2 separate regions of the Homo sapiens genome follow, and region 2 is linked to region 1. The links are contacts of gene promoters, found by promoter capture Hi-C in blood cells and fetal thymus (Javierre and others, 2016). All regions are on one chromosome and are shown on one strand. Each heading gives the region's core, a stretch centred on a gene start or on the middle of the fragment in contact. The rest is flanking DNA. Distances are from core to core; before and after follow the strand shown.

What was found. The method cuts DNA at HindIII sites, captures the fragments that hold promoters and counts their contacts. A CHiCAGO score of 5 or more calls a contact.
Region 2: the fragment with the promoter of PLRG1 here is called in contact with the fragment with the promoter of CBR4 in region 1 in 1 of 17 cell types (activated CD4 T cells); the score reaches 6.2 in activated CD4 T cells.

Annotation. Positions count from the first base shown.
Region 1 is chr4:169,007,042-169,012,995 of GRCh38, reverse strand. CBR4 (carbonyl reductase 4) reads left to right here and starts at 2,741. Exons shown (of 5, transcript NM_032783.5): 1 at 2,741-3,048; 2 at 5,240-5,360. The coding sequence starts at 2,907. It overlaps CBR4-DT (CBR4 divergent transcript), which reads right to left and starts at 2,567. Exons shown (of 2, transcript NR_185919.1): 1 at 2,540-2,567; 2 at 1,936-2,212. RefSeq lists enhancers at 2,362-2,691, 2,791-3,740. The HindIII fragment of the contact is 6,180 bases long and covers 2,063-5,954 here.
Region 2 is chr4:154,547,955-154,553,793 of GRCh38, reverse strand. It overlaps PLRG1 (pleiotropic regulator 1), which reads left to right and starts at 3,394. Exons shown (of 15, transcript NM_002669.4): 1 at 3,394-3,494; 2 at 4,859-4,965. The coding sequence starts at 3,486. RefSeq lists enhancers at 1,383-1,677, 3,061-3,220, 3,241-3,290. The HindIII fragment of the contact is 1,608 bases long and covers 3,151-4,758 here.

The sequences.
Region 1 (5,954 bases), core at 1,492-3,991:
GGTTAAAATATTACCACAAAAGTGGCATGTTTAGTGAGAAGGAAAGACTAAAGGTGGGTCATTCTAATGGCTTCCTTCAATGTCCTGCTGGGTAGGGGAGACCCAGTTTAATTTACAGATCCTCACTTCACTATCAGGGGCTTACAGAGAAACTTCCCCTGCTGTAACCTTCTCAGCTAATGGGTGATGTGCTGTGATAGATGTATTCTCACCCGGGATAGTGGTGATATTGTATTAAGAGGGAAAAAAAATAAATAATAACCTTGAGGTTTAACCTGAGGTATGTGTTGAATAAAAAGCCCAGCTTATCCATTTACAGTATATATACAGTGAGAAAAGTTGGAAGGTTTTCAGAATTCTGAATGTCACCTCATATCATGTGTTAGTGATCTTCATGATAGATGGCATAGATCTAAAAACCATTTTTTTTTGCTAAAATAACAATGTGTAGAAAAAAAAATAATCATTTTCCTAGCAAATGGAGAGAACTGTTCAAAAGATAAACCTCTCTGGTTTGACCTAAGGTGCAGGAATACAGTTGGCATTTAGGCTGACCCTTATATTGGTAATTTATGTAAAACAGTTTTTTCTTTCCAAGATTGCATAGTGTATAGTAGGAAAGTGAATAGACAAATTTGATCTGACCCATTTTTACATCACTGGGAAACTGTTTGTTTGTTTTTTAGAACACTGTTATTTTGAGACAGGGTCCTGCTGTGTCATGCAGGCTGGACTGCAGTGGTGCAATCATGGCTCACTGCAGCCTTGACCTCCTGGACTTACATGATCCTCCCAACTCAGCCTCCCGAGTAGCTGGGACCACAGGTAGGCCACCATGTCCAGCTAATTTTTTTTTGTATTTTCTGTAGAGATGGGGGTCGGGGGGGTGGGGGTCTTGCTGTGTTTCCTGGGTTGGTTTTGAACTTCTAGACTCAAGCAATCCTCCTGTCTCAGCCTCCCAAAGTGCTGGGATTACAGGCATGAGCCACCACGCCTGGCCTGCTAATAGTTCTTAAATGCAGCTCTTATCTTATTACTTCTGCAGTTAAAGGCCTGTTTAATGCTTGGCACCTGACTTTAAAGCTGACTATAATATAGCACCATCCCAAATTTCCTCAGGCTTGTTTCCTCATTGTTTCAAACATATATTGTTTCAAAGACACAATTTTTATGTGTGACTGTTTGCTTATATTGTTTAACTTCCTATTGTATTTGCTTTTAATAAAGTCTAATAGATGCTATGAAAACAGCCTTACAATCTCTTTTTCTTTTCATGAAGCTCACTGTCTACTACAATGCTTAGTGTGCCATTTAGGAGGACCTATGAGGAGGGAGTTTTGCTCAGGCTTCTCTGCTGCATAACCAGGAGGCTGATTTCTTACAGAAATTACCACTTGTAATTATATTTCCTTTGTTGCTTTCGCTGGCAGGAAACTCTAAGTTTATGAATCTCTTCTTTAATACTAAATAGATTCTTATAGCATGACTTTATTCGTATTTTTTCCACTGACCTAATTTATTGTTCTGGCCTTGTGGGAGAAGGGGCAGTGGTCCTCTTTGCCTTTTAAATTCAAATACTCATGTATTTTTGCAAACCATTTCAAATCTTTTTTTGGATCTAAATGGAATAGGAATAACAAATTTAAATTAATGCTCAACTTGCTTATTTATAGACTTTTTGCTCTTGTTTTCCTTTTTTCAAACCTCATCCAGCCCTCAAATCCAGCTTTTCCATGCACCCCTTCATTCTTCACTGATCTCCATTTTCTCGGAGCTCTTGTGTTAATATAATTTTGCATTTTACTAAGTATGATTTTGGATACCTCCTAGTGTTTCATGTGTATTAGTCCTGTAGTTCTGGGTTGTAGTTTTTTTAGTGGTAGGGACCATGGCTCATACTTTTCTGAATCTAGTAAAATAATATTGTATCAGAAATGCTTTCTGTTTACACTATAATTGTAACAAACATTGAATTTTTTAGCTTATTAACTCTCAGAGCACCCAGTACATCTTATTTAGAATTGCAGGAACCCATTTTTGTTTCTCTACAGCAGCCGAAGCTTGTTTCATAGATCTTGCAAGACTATTCAATCATTCAGTTAAAATTCCTTGACCTCCTGCTGGATGATGTTCGACAGGGCATTCATCTTCACGACACCCTTCGCGATGAATGGTAACATCTGGGCGGGTAGAGGTCCATTTCTACAGCAACCTGGGGGAGGAACAGGTAGGGTAGGTTTTGGTGTGGGTGCGATTCTTGGGGACTTCTTCAACAGGTAGGACATCAAGTCTGTAGCCAAAACAACACCTGGGCGAAGGGCAAATACCGGAGCCCCGACCGGCTCACGCCCAGTAATGCTTTCTCTGGGTTCTAACTACGTGATCAGGTCGTCTTGGTTTGCCAGGGAAAGCCCAGCGTCTTGACAACCCTGTCAGTTCCGAACAAACCGGGTCGATTGGTCACCGGGGCTCGAATCCCGACTGATATGACCCAGCGGGGACAGAGGATCCCCCTCAGTGCCACAAGTACATTCCCCACCGAGCAGCGCGCCTGCGCCAGTTGCTCTCATGCGTCAAGACTACAGGTCCCAGCAAGCATCGAGGCCCTCTCCAGGCCATTCTTCCGCCGGCGGGGAGCTCTCGTCGGCGTATTTGTTAGGTGTGGCGCGGAAGAGTCCGTGCGTGATGACGTCGACGCGGCGACGTCGAGCTCTTCCTCCTTTTCACGGCGTCTTGCATTACTATTGTGCGGCTGCAGGAGGTGTCGAGCGGCGTTATTTTTTTTTGCGGTTTGCCTTTTTTTTTCTTTTTTTTTTTTTTGGAACCGCGGTTGTTTAAAAGCCTGAGGGAACCTGGAGAGGGGCTCCCACTCCCTACCCTCTTTCCTCCGAGTTTGTGACTCCGAGATGGACAAAGTGTGTGCTGTTTTTGGAGGCTCCCGAGGCATTGGCAGAGCTGTGGCCCAGTTAATGGCCCGGAAAGGCTACCGACTGGCGGTCATTGCCAGAAACCTGGAAGGGGCCAAAGCCGCCGCCGGTGACCTCGGCGGTAGGTACCAAACTGGAGTTGTCCAGTTGTATGGCCGCGGTCCAGGCGCCTAAAGAAAATCTCCTTTGTAAAAAGAGCGGGTCTGGCCTTTAGGGCTCTAGGGTTACTCGATGTAGCCGCGTGCAGGCGCTCTCCCGTTCCAAGGGTAGAATGCGTCTCGTGCAGAAACCCGCGATCTCCCTATGCCTCGCAGAATGCCGGCCACGCAGCTTGCCGCCGAGGGCTGAACACTTGGGGTGTTCTTTGAGACCTCGTAGTCTTTTGAGGCCCCGCTATACGCACCCTCCGCCCTGCGGCTAGTGCTAACGCTGAGGAGCTTCCCTGTTGTGGGAGAGAGCCACGTAACAGTTTACTTTTAATGTAGGGAAAAGGGCGAGTTCTCGGCCCCCGGAGACAGGGCTGGGTCGAAAGGAGTTCAGGCAGGAAAGGTGGGAGTGCAGGTACCAACGGCTCCCTTCAGTTTTGCCCAAGGGCCGTGCCTTGGCCCTGCGCGAATGCACAAAGCAGTGTTTGATAGAGAAACCCTTTTGAGTACCAGCCAGTTTTGAGATATACCTGGTTTGCTTTAATGTTATTAAATTGTTTTGGTGAGTTTTGCAAATGGACAATTGAACTTTGTTCTGCCAAATTCTTTTTTATTGCATTTAAACTTCAGGGTTTTTTATTTCCGGCTTATTATGAATGGATTAGTCATTTTGTGAATATAACTCTTCATTGAGTTTAGGGAGAAATAGGACGTTAGATCCGAAGATGCTATTTGTTTAATCACCAGAATGGACAAAATTATACTTCATTTACTATCAGGGAGGCATGGGGAGAATAGAGGCCTAGGGGTGCGTCTTGTGGCTCTTACTGTTTTTGTGTATCTGGTTTTTTTTTTTTTTTTTTGAGAGGGCTTCCCATTATGTTGCCCGTGCTGGACCCCAACTCCTGATTTACTGGCTCTAGAGATCTTCTCGCCTCAGTCTCCCAAGGACCTGGGACTATAGACGCCAGGTGTGGCTGTTCATTTTTAAGTTAACATTATTGATCGGTTTGGTATCACCTGTTCAGTGCTGGTTGGGAGACTATTGGGCTCTCTAAAAGAAAAAAGATTCTGTAAGTTATAGGTCAGGGAGAGTGTCAGTGAATGCTTCTTGAAGCTCATATTCCTTACCATTCTAACAAAGGAGGGGAAGAGTGGTGACCCTTACTGTGTCACCCCAAGCCATCAGTGTTTGCTGGACTGGATTGAAGCCATTAGTTGGGCTTTCAAAGGTGGTTGTGGACACAAGTCTTCGGGTGAAAACCAAGAGTAAGAGAGACACAGGATGCTTTTGGGCCCTGCATTCCTTTGAATCGTGTTCCATGAGTGATTGGTTTTCATCTAGAAAGTATAATTCCCCGGGTCGCTTACTGTTTCCAAAGGCTTGATGGGGTAGTGTTGGTGTAAGCATATTTATCAAGGTCAGACAGAAAATAAAGAATTGTTTTAGCTTTTAAAAACAATCCTACATTTTAGAGTATTAAAATGGTAGATTACATAGGGAATGCTTTGTTTTCCTTTGAAGTGTAGTTTTTTTTTGGCATTTAACCATTTTTTAAAAGTGGTAAGTAACAGTTGCTTTTAGTAAAAAGTGTTTTTTTCCCCCCGTGGTTTGTAGTTTTAGCATTTTTATAGCTTCCTGTGTTGTCTCATCTCTCCTGATGGTCAGGTTTGAATAATAGTCGTTATAATATATGTGCCATAGTGCATCCGTAGCACTTAAAAAGAAGAAACCCAAGAGTTCCCGTTCAGGGCCAAAGAAACTAATTCAACAAAAACCTGACAGAATTAGACATAAATTTCAAAAAAGGAATATAAAACCCAGAAGACTGTCGAATTGGGTAGCATGAATTCAGTGTTAAAGCTATAAATATTAGATGAATCTTACAGAGCCTTTATAACTTGAAAAAGCCCTCCCCCCTTTGTTGATTAAAAAGAAAATTTTAAAATTAACTTTCTGTAGTAGTACTTTATTTCCTCTTTGTTCCCGCATCCCAGTTTCATTAGACCAACTCTATGAAAGCCAGGCCTCATGACATTACTTTTTTAATCTTTAGGTTCTAGATTAGCACAGGCCTGCCATCTTAGATAGATGCTTAACAAATGTGTATTGAGTAAATTTAAAATTTGAGTTATAAGTAATTCTTATTTAACTTTGTTGTGTAGGAGATCATTTGGCATTTAGCTGTGATGTTGCTAAAGAACATGATGTTCAAAATACATTTGAAGAGCTGGAGAAACATTTAGGTCGAGTAAATTTCTTGGTAAATGCAGCTGGTATTAACAGGTTGGTCACAGATTTAAATAAGTTTCTTATATATATATTTAAAACTTTTATTCCTAATATGTCTTTGATTGGTATAAGTTAATATGTTTATTTTGCTTCTAACTGGGAGAAAAAACTATTTTAAAACTTGTCAATCCATAAATTATTTTCCTTTATATTGAGATACAACATATAATAAATGTCCAGTTGAGTCGATTTTAACATTGTAATCATCACCCATATTGAGCCGTAGAATGTTTCCAGTGCTCCAGAAGGTAGTGTCTTCTCAATACTTCCTTGTTGGTAACTGTTTTCTGAGTTTTGTCACCACAGATAAGTTTTGCCAGTTTGTGAACTTAATACTAATAGAATCATGGAGTGGATATTATTTTTTAAAAGATGAATTTAGGAGAGAATATTTAGATAACATATTAATTTTCTTGCTAAACAAGGCTTAGTATGGCAGTTGCTCAGGCCATTCAAACTATTTTGGCTATATGTTACTACTTTTTAGGGGTTAAGAATATTTGCCACTCAAGCTGAGAAGGGGTAGCAACCTGTCTTCCAAGTGGATCCTTTCTGGTTTATCAATTGTTATTTTAATGTTTCTCAAGC
Region 2 (5,839 bases), core at 2,145-4,644, about 14 Mb after region 1:
TCAGCTAAGAAAGCTGGAACCAAGACATTGTTATTTCTTCTGTGGCAGTATAAACACCAAAAATATTTCTGTAAAATAAAAACATTTGTAAATGCCTGCAAATATTTGTAAGTACAAATTCTTATTTGTAAAGGTAAACAACAAAAGTCATGATTATGTTCAATATTGTCACTTATTTTGTGATATAGTGTTGTGGGTTGAACTGTGTCCCCCCAAATTCACATTATGAATTCCTAACCCCCAGTATCTAAGAATGTGACCTTATTTGGAAATAGGGTATTTTTGGATGGAATTAGTTAAGATGAAGCCATACTGGAGTAGGGTGGGCCTTTAATTCAATATGATTGATGTTCTTTAAGAAGGAGAAATTTGGCATAGGCATATGCACAGTGAGAACGAAATGTGAAGATGAAGGCAGACATGACAGTGATGCAGCAGAAGACAAGAAACGGCAAAGACTGCCAGAGAACTACTGGAAGTTAGGGGAGAGGCATAGAACACATTCTCTCTCACAGCCCTTAGAAGGAACCAACTTTGCCAACGCCTTTATTTCAAGCCTCTTGCCTCCAGAACTGTGAGACAATAAACATTTGTTGTCTAAGCCATCCAGTTTGTGGTACTTTGTTACATCAGCCCTAGCAAACTAATACACATGAGATGGGGCTTCATGTAGTAGAGGATGGTGAAATTGTGATAAGTAAGACCCGAGGACTCTCTCTCTCTCTCTCACACACACACATACACCTTGCTAAGATATTTATAACTGACAGTTTATAACTGATAGTACAATCTAATTATTCCCAAAGTCTTTCCAGGCATTAACAGGAAGAACAGCCCCTTCACTGTTCCTTATAGTCCCAGAAGCTTGTTTCAACTATGCTACAAGAAAGTATCTGCTAACACTACCTTAGTATTTAGGCAAATTCATAGCATTGTGCTAAACAATTAAAGACCAAAGTTTTGGAAGAAATGTCCAAGTATCATTTTTCACAGGTTTTGACCTCAGAAATTCAAATAAACAGTGATAACTCCCATGATTACTTCCTTTTGAATTAACGAACAATTTCAAATATGAAATTTAAGGGATGGACATACTGAGCCACACAACTCTAAAGAACATTGCATATAGTGTTTTTTAAAGCTTGTATATTTAACCCTCTAAGTTGAAACAGAAAAATAAATAGTAATATTTATTATTTTATAAGAATCAGAAAACACTTCCTATAAAAATATCATAAAAAGCTGATGAAAATGGCACTCAAATCTATACTCATATGACCTATCACTGTTCAAGAGCAAAGGACAATATTTGAAGGAGAATAAAAAGAGTTTCTGTATTGGTGAGTTTAAAAAATCTTGCCTAAAGAAGGAGGGCTTTCCTTAAAACTTGTATTCTTGGTTTTACACAGACATAATACTAATAATTTATATTAATAAGTTACTTGCCGTGTCTGCTTTAAGGACAGCCCTGAGGGCCCGTACAAAGAGCAGTGGTGACACCTGCTGTTCAAATAAGGCAGCTTCGGGTGTCAGCCAGGCCATGTGTGTATGACGGAGCCTTTCAGGAATCCAATTAAACTTGTGGATCCTTTCTCCAGAAAATAAAACATATTCCCATATAAATACAAAATTTTCCTACAATATACATAATTCATGAATCCCTGAACTAAATAATAGGGTCACTTGAGTTCTATATTTATCTAAAATATTGTAAACTTTCAAGGGGATGACATCATTCTATAAATTCACGACAGTGTTTTAAAAGGAGCAAATTCGAGGCAATTTACCTCAATCATTACCATGTTGTTATTGAGAAATTAAATTAATGTCTCCAGGATGATTAAATATGTAAAAAGTTAATAGATCCAACTAGACAATTAATATATTGCCATATATATTAGTCTTGCTTAGGTTTCTATGGTTTTATTGTCATTTCAAATCATGTTATTTTCTATAGTTATTATTAATAGGTGAGTATATTATTTAGTTCATCAAGTATATATTTTACAATTATGGTATTTTCTTGCAAGGAAATACCATCACCTGCCACCTTTACAGAAAAGCAATTCTTAGGCCAAACTCACAGTTAAATTCAGAGATGCTGTATCTTCAAGTAAAAACATGACCTTAAGGCAGGGCTCAGTGGCTCATGCCTGTAATCCTAGCACTTTGGGAGGCCGAGGCGGGCGGATCACCTGAGGTCAGGAGTTCAAGACCAGCCTGGCCAACATGGTGAAACGCTGTCTCTACTAAAAATACAAAAATTAGCCGGGCATGGTGGCGGGCGCCTGTAATCCCAGCTACTCCAGAGGCTGAGGCAGGAGAATAGCTTGAACCTGGGATGCTGAGGTTGCAGTGAGCCAAGATCGCGCCATGGCACTCCAGCCTGGGCGACAAGAGCGAAACTCTGTCTCAAACAAAAACCCATGACCTTAATGTTTTTAATGAATTTCCAAGTAAGGTTGATTTATATTGCTATTCTTTTGCTAGATTTTTTCCCCCTCTCAAAGTGTAAGCAGTATGCTCTCAGGACAGGATTAGTGAAACTGAAACAGGGCCAGTAAAATGTTTGTCTATTTAAGTTTGTAAATGCCTAAGTCCATCCATTTTTTTTTTTACATAGAAAAATAATTGGGTAGGGTTGATCACAAACCACAGATTTTACCAGGGTAGAAAGCAAAAATACCAATACTTGGCACAAGGATATGTATAAATAAAAATGGCTAAAGTCTCCAATTGTGTCTTCTACCAGCTTTGAAAAGCTGTACCCTGGCATTGTTGAAGCCACAATAATCAGCAGGCAACTAGGAAATGGACAAGAGCTATGCAGTTTTGAGAAATTAAAAAAAAAAATCTATTAGCAGAAAATAAATATGGGGTTTTGTTATAACTACATGTCAAAATTTTCCAAATTAAAACAGCTATTCCTCAACGTTCACTTAACAAGTGTTTACTGGACTGTTTAAGCGAAATTGTTTTCAGGTGTTAAGCCTACAAGTGTCCAAGTGCTTCTCGCCAGGATTAGAACCAGGAGACACAAAGCACGCAGGCGACCTCCAAAGAGATCAAGGTAGTGGAAATGCCTTAGATAGAGCCCACGGGAGTTTGCTCTCCAGACGCTTAGGTTCTCTGAATAAAAAGCGTTAAGCTTCCGGGGAATACAGCACGAACAACCAGGACCCCAACTAAGGCAGAAAACATAATTCTAAGATTTCTTCAGAGGGACGAGTGAAACCCTCCACCCAGGCCCTTCCAGGAGTCTCCGGCTTTCAGCCTCGAGACTCCGCCCTAGAGGCGGTCCCGAGGAGGGAGACCCGCCTCCTGATCCTAGATGGCCGAGGGAGACTAGCGCGCGTGCGCAGAGCTTGCATCACATCCGCCGCCTGGGCGCCCAATTCCGGAAGGTGCTGCACAGCTGTGGCGGCGGGTACTGCGTTAGTGATTAGAGTTTCTTCCCTGCCGGAGGTGGGATACACGGTAGCATCATGGTCGAGGTAAAGTGACACTGGGGCTCTCAAGAGTCGTTTGTCTCTGGACTGTTTTTTTTGGCAGTGCGCGTGGGGGATTGAGAGTACTTGGAGTCCAGAGAGAAAAGAGGCTACGAGGGGAGCTATTTGGCCAAGGCCGAGTGGTCTCTTCTTCGGGTTTTCGGGGAAGGGGTAGAAGCCGGATGAGAACCCGAGTCGGAGGTTCAGCCTGGGCGCGAAGCCTGAGATAATTCGTCCAGTCCTCGTTTGACTCTTGGGAGCTGGAAAGTGTCCTCGGAGGCGGGGCCTCTGTTGGTGATCGACCACTGGTACTTGCCGCCCTCGGGGCAGTGTCAGTGAGTCTGTGCCCTAAAAGATTGGTAGTCTTCTCTATCTTGCGTTCAGGTCGTCTCTTATTTCACCTCTACCCCCAGAAAAACTTGCCGTTCTTTACATCTTTCCCTGGCATGAACAGCCAACGCTGTTAGCTGGTCTTGTCCATCTTACCCCACATGTTTATTGATTCCATTCACTCTTCTCCATATCCGCTGCAGTCCACCTTAATTGAGACCAACATCATCTTTCACCTGGACTGGTGCATTAGCTCCCCGTTGGTTGGTTTCCTTGCTTCCATTTTGTTCTATAAGTTGTTCTGTTTAAAACGTAAGTTGTTCATACCTTTCTTGTTTAAAACCCTTTACTGACCCTATGTTGCTAGAACAAAATATAGGCTGTTGTAATAGTCTAAAAGACCTTACCTAATCTGGACCTTGTCTACCCTTGCAGCTACAAAGCACCATCTCATCCTCCATACACAGCTGTACTGCGCTCCTTGTATTATTTCAGTTAACTGAACTTTTTTTTACATGACATTTCCATCAGCCTGGTTCGTTCTTACCTCTGTTTTGTGCAAGGCTAACTCCCTTTCTGCTTAAATATCACCTTAGTGAAATCTTTCACAATTATACTTAGTCCTTCATTCCCTGACTCAGCGCCTTGCTTGTTGCCTTCATAGCACTTATCAAAATGTGGAATTATTTTACTTTTTATTTGTCTGTTTCCTCTTGAGCACAGGGACCATGACCACCTTTTTATCATTCTATTGTGAGATTCTAGCACAATACCTGCCAGACACACAGTAGGAGCTCAGTAAATATTTATTGAGTAAGTTAAACTCCGGCATCACTCAGTTGCTAAACCTGAGGTTCTAGCCAAAGAGGAGCTTCCTCCTCTTCTCTGAACTTGACTCCTGTAGCTTGCAACAAGTAGCTATGGTGAGTGGTATAAAGCTTTTTACATATTTAAACACGTGAAGTGTATAATCAATCTGACTTTAGGTTATGATTTGTGTAATTTGTAGATAGGTGTGTAATTACATTCTTTTTTTTTAGGAGGTACAGAAACATTCTGTACACACCCTTGTGTTCAGGTCGTTGAAGAGGACCCATGACATGTTTGTAGCTGATAATGGAAAACCTGTGCCTTTAGATGAAGAGAGGTTGGTGTAGTTTTTTTTTTTCAATTGCTAAAATACTTAACATTCTAATACTAGGGGAAGAGAGCAGGGAGAGGGAGTCCTTTAAAGATAAGCTAGTCATGGGCTAATTATTCAATAATGAGTGGTGTTTTGGCATAATTTAAGCTGATTTAACTTTTTTTTTTGGCCTTTTACAGTAAAAGTTCCATTAATTAATTGCATTTTACAAATACCCAGTAATTAAGAGAGTCCCTTTTAGGTATTTTATTTTATAATCAATCACTTTGTATGTGCTTTCAGCTTCCCGCTGCTCTCAGAGCCTTGCTGAGCTGAAATTGTACCTGGCTAGTACCTCTACTCCCATCTTTTCTCGTTAGTATGATGAAGATTTTTGAGTGGTGGCATATTTTTGGTTCTACATATCCAGCTCCAGTCTGGGAATGCATTATGTGCAGTGTTCCTTCTTTGTCCTTTACCTTTTTAAAATCTACTTAACTCCTCAAACAAGCATTTATATTTAATTTATAAAGTAGACTATTTTTAAAAGTAATATAAATGCATTTCTTTTTAAGATATTGAACCAATTAAGTACTTTGATTAGTTCTAACTAACCTGTTTGGATACATCTAGTAAAGGTTGCTATAGAGTTTTTACTATATTTATATTTTGAAGGAAAGTATATTGACTTTGAGGTTTCTTAAAGGGTATGTTAGTTTCTGTATATCTTTCAGTCAGACCCTTGACAATTTATCATAAAAGGTTTTCTATTTATTAGGTAACAAACTAAAATATTACGTAGGTTTAATGAATGCTGTGTGGTCGAATGTAAGCAAAAGAACAGATATGGTGGGGAAATGCCCTTGGAAATTTTTGATTCTTTTAAATACTACTTAAA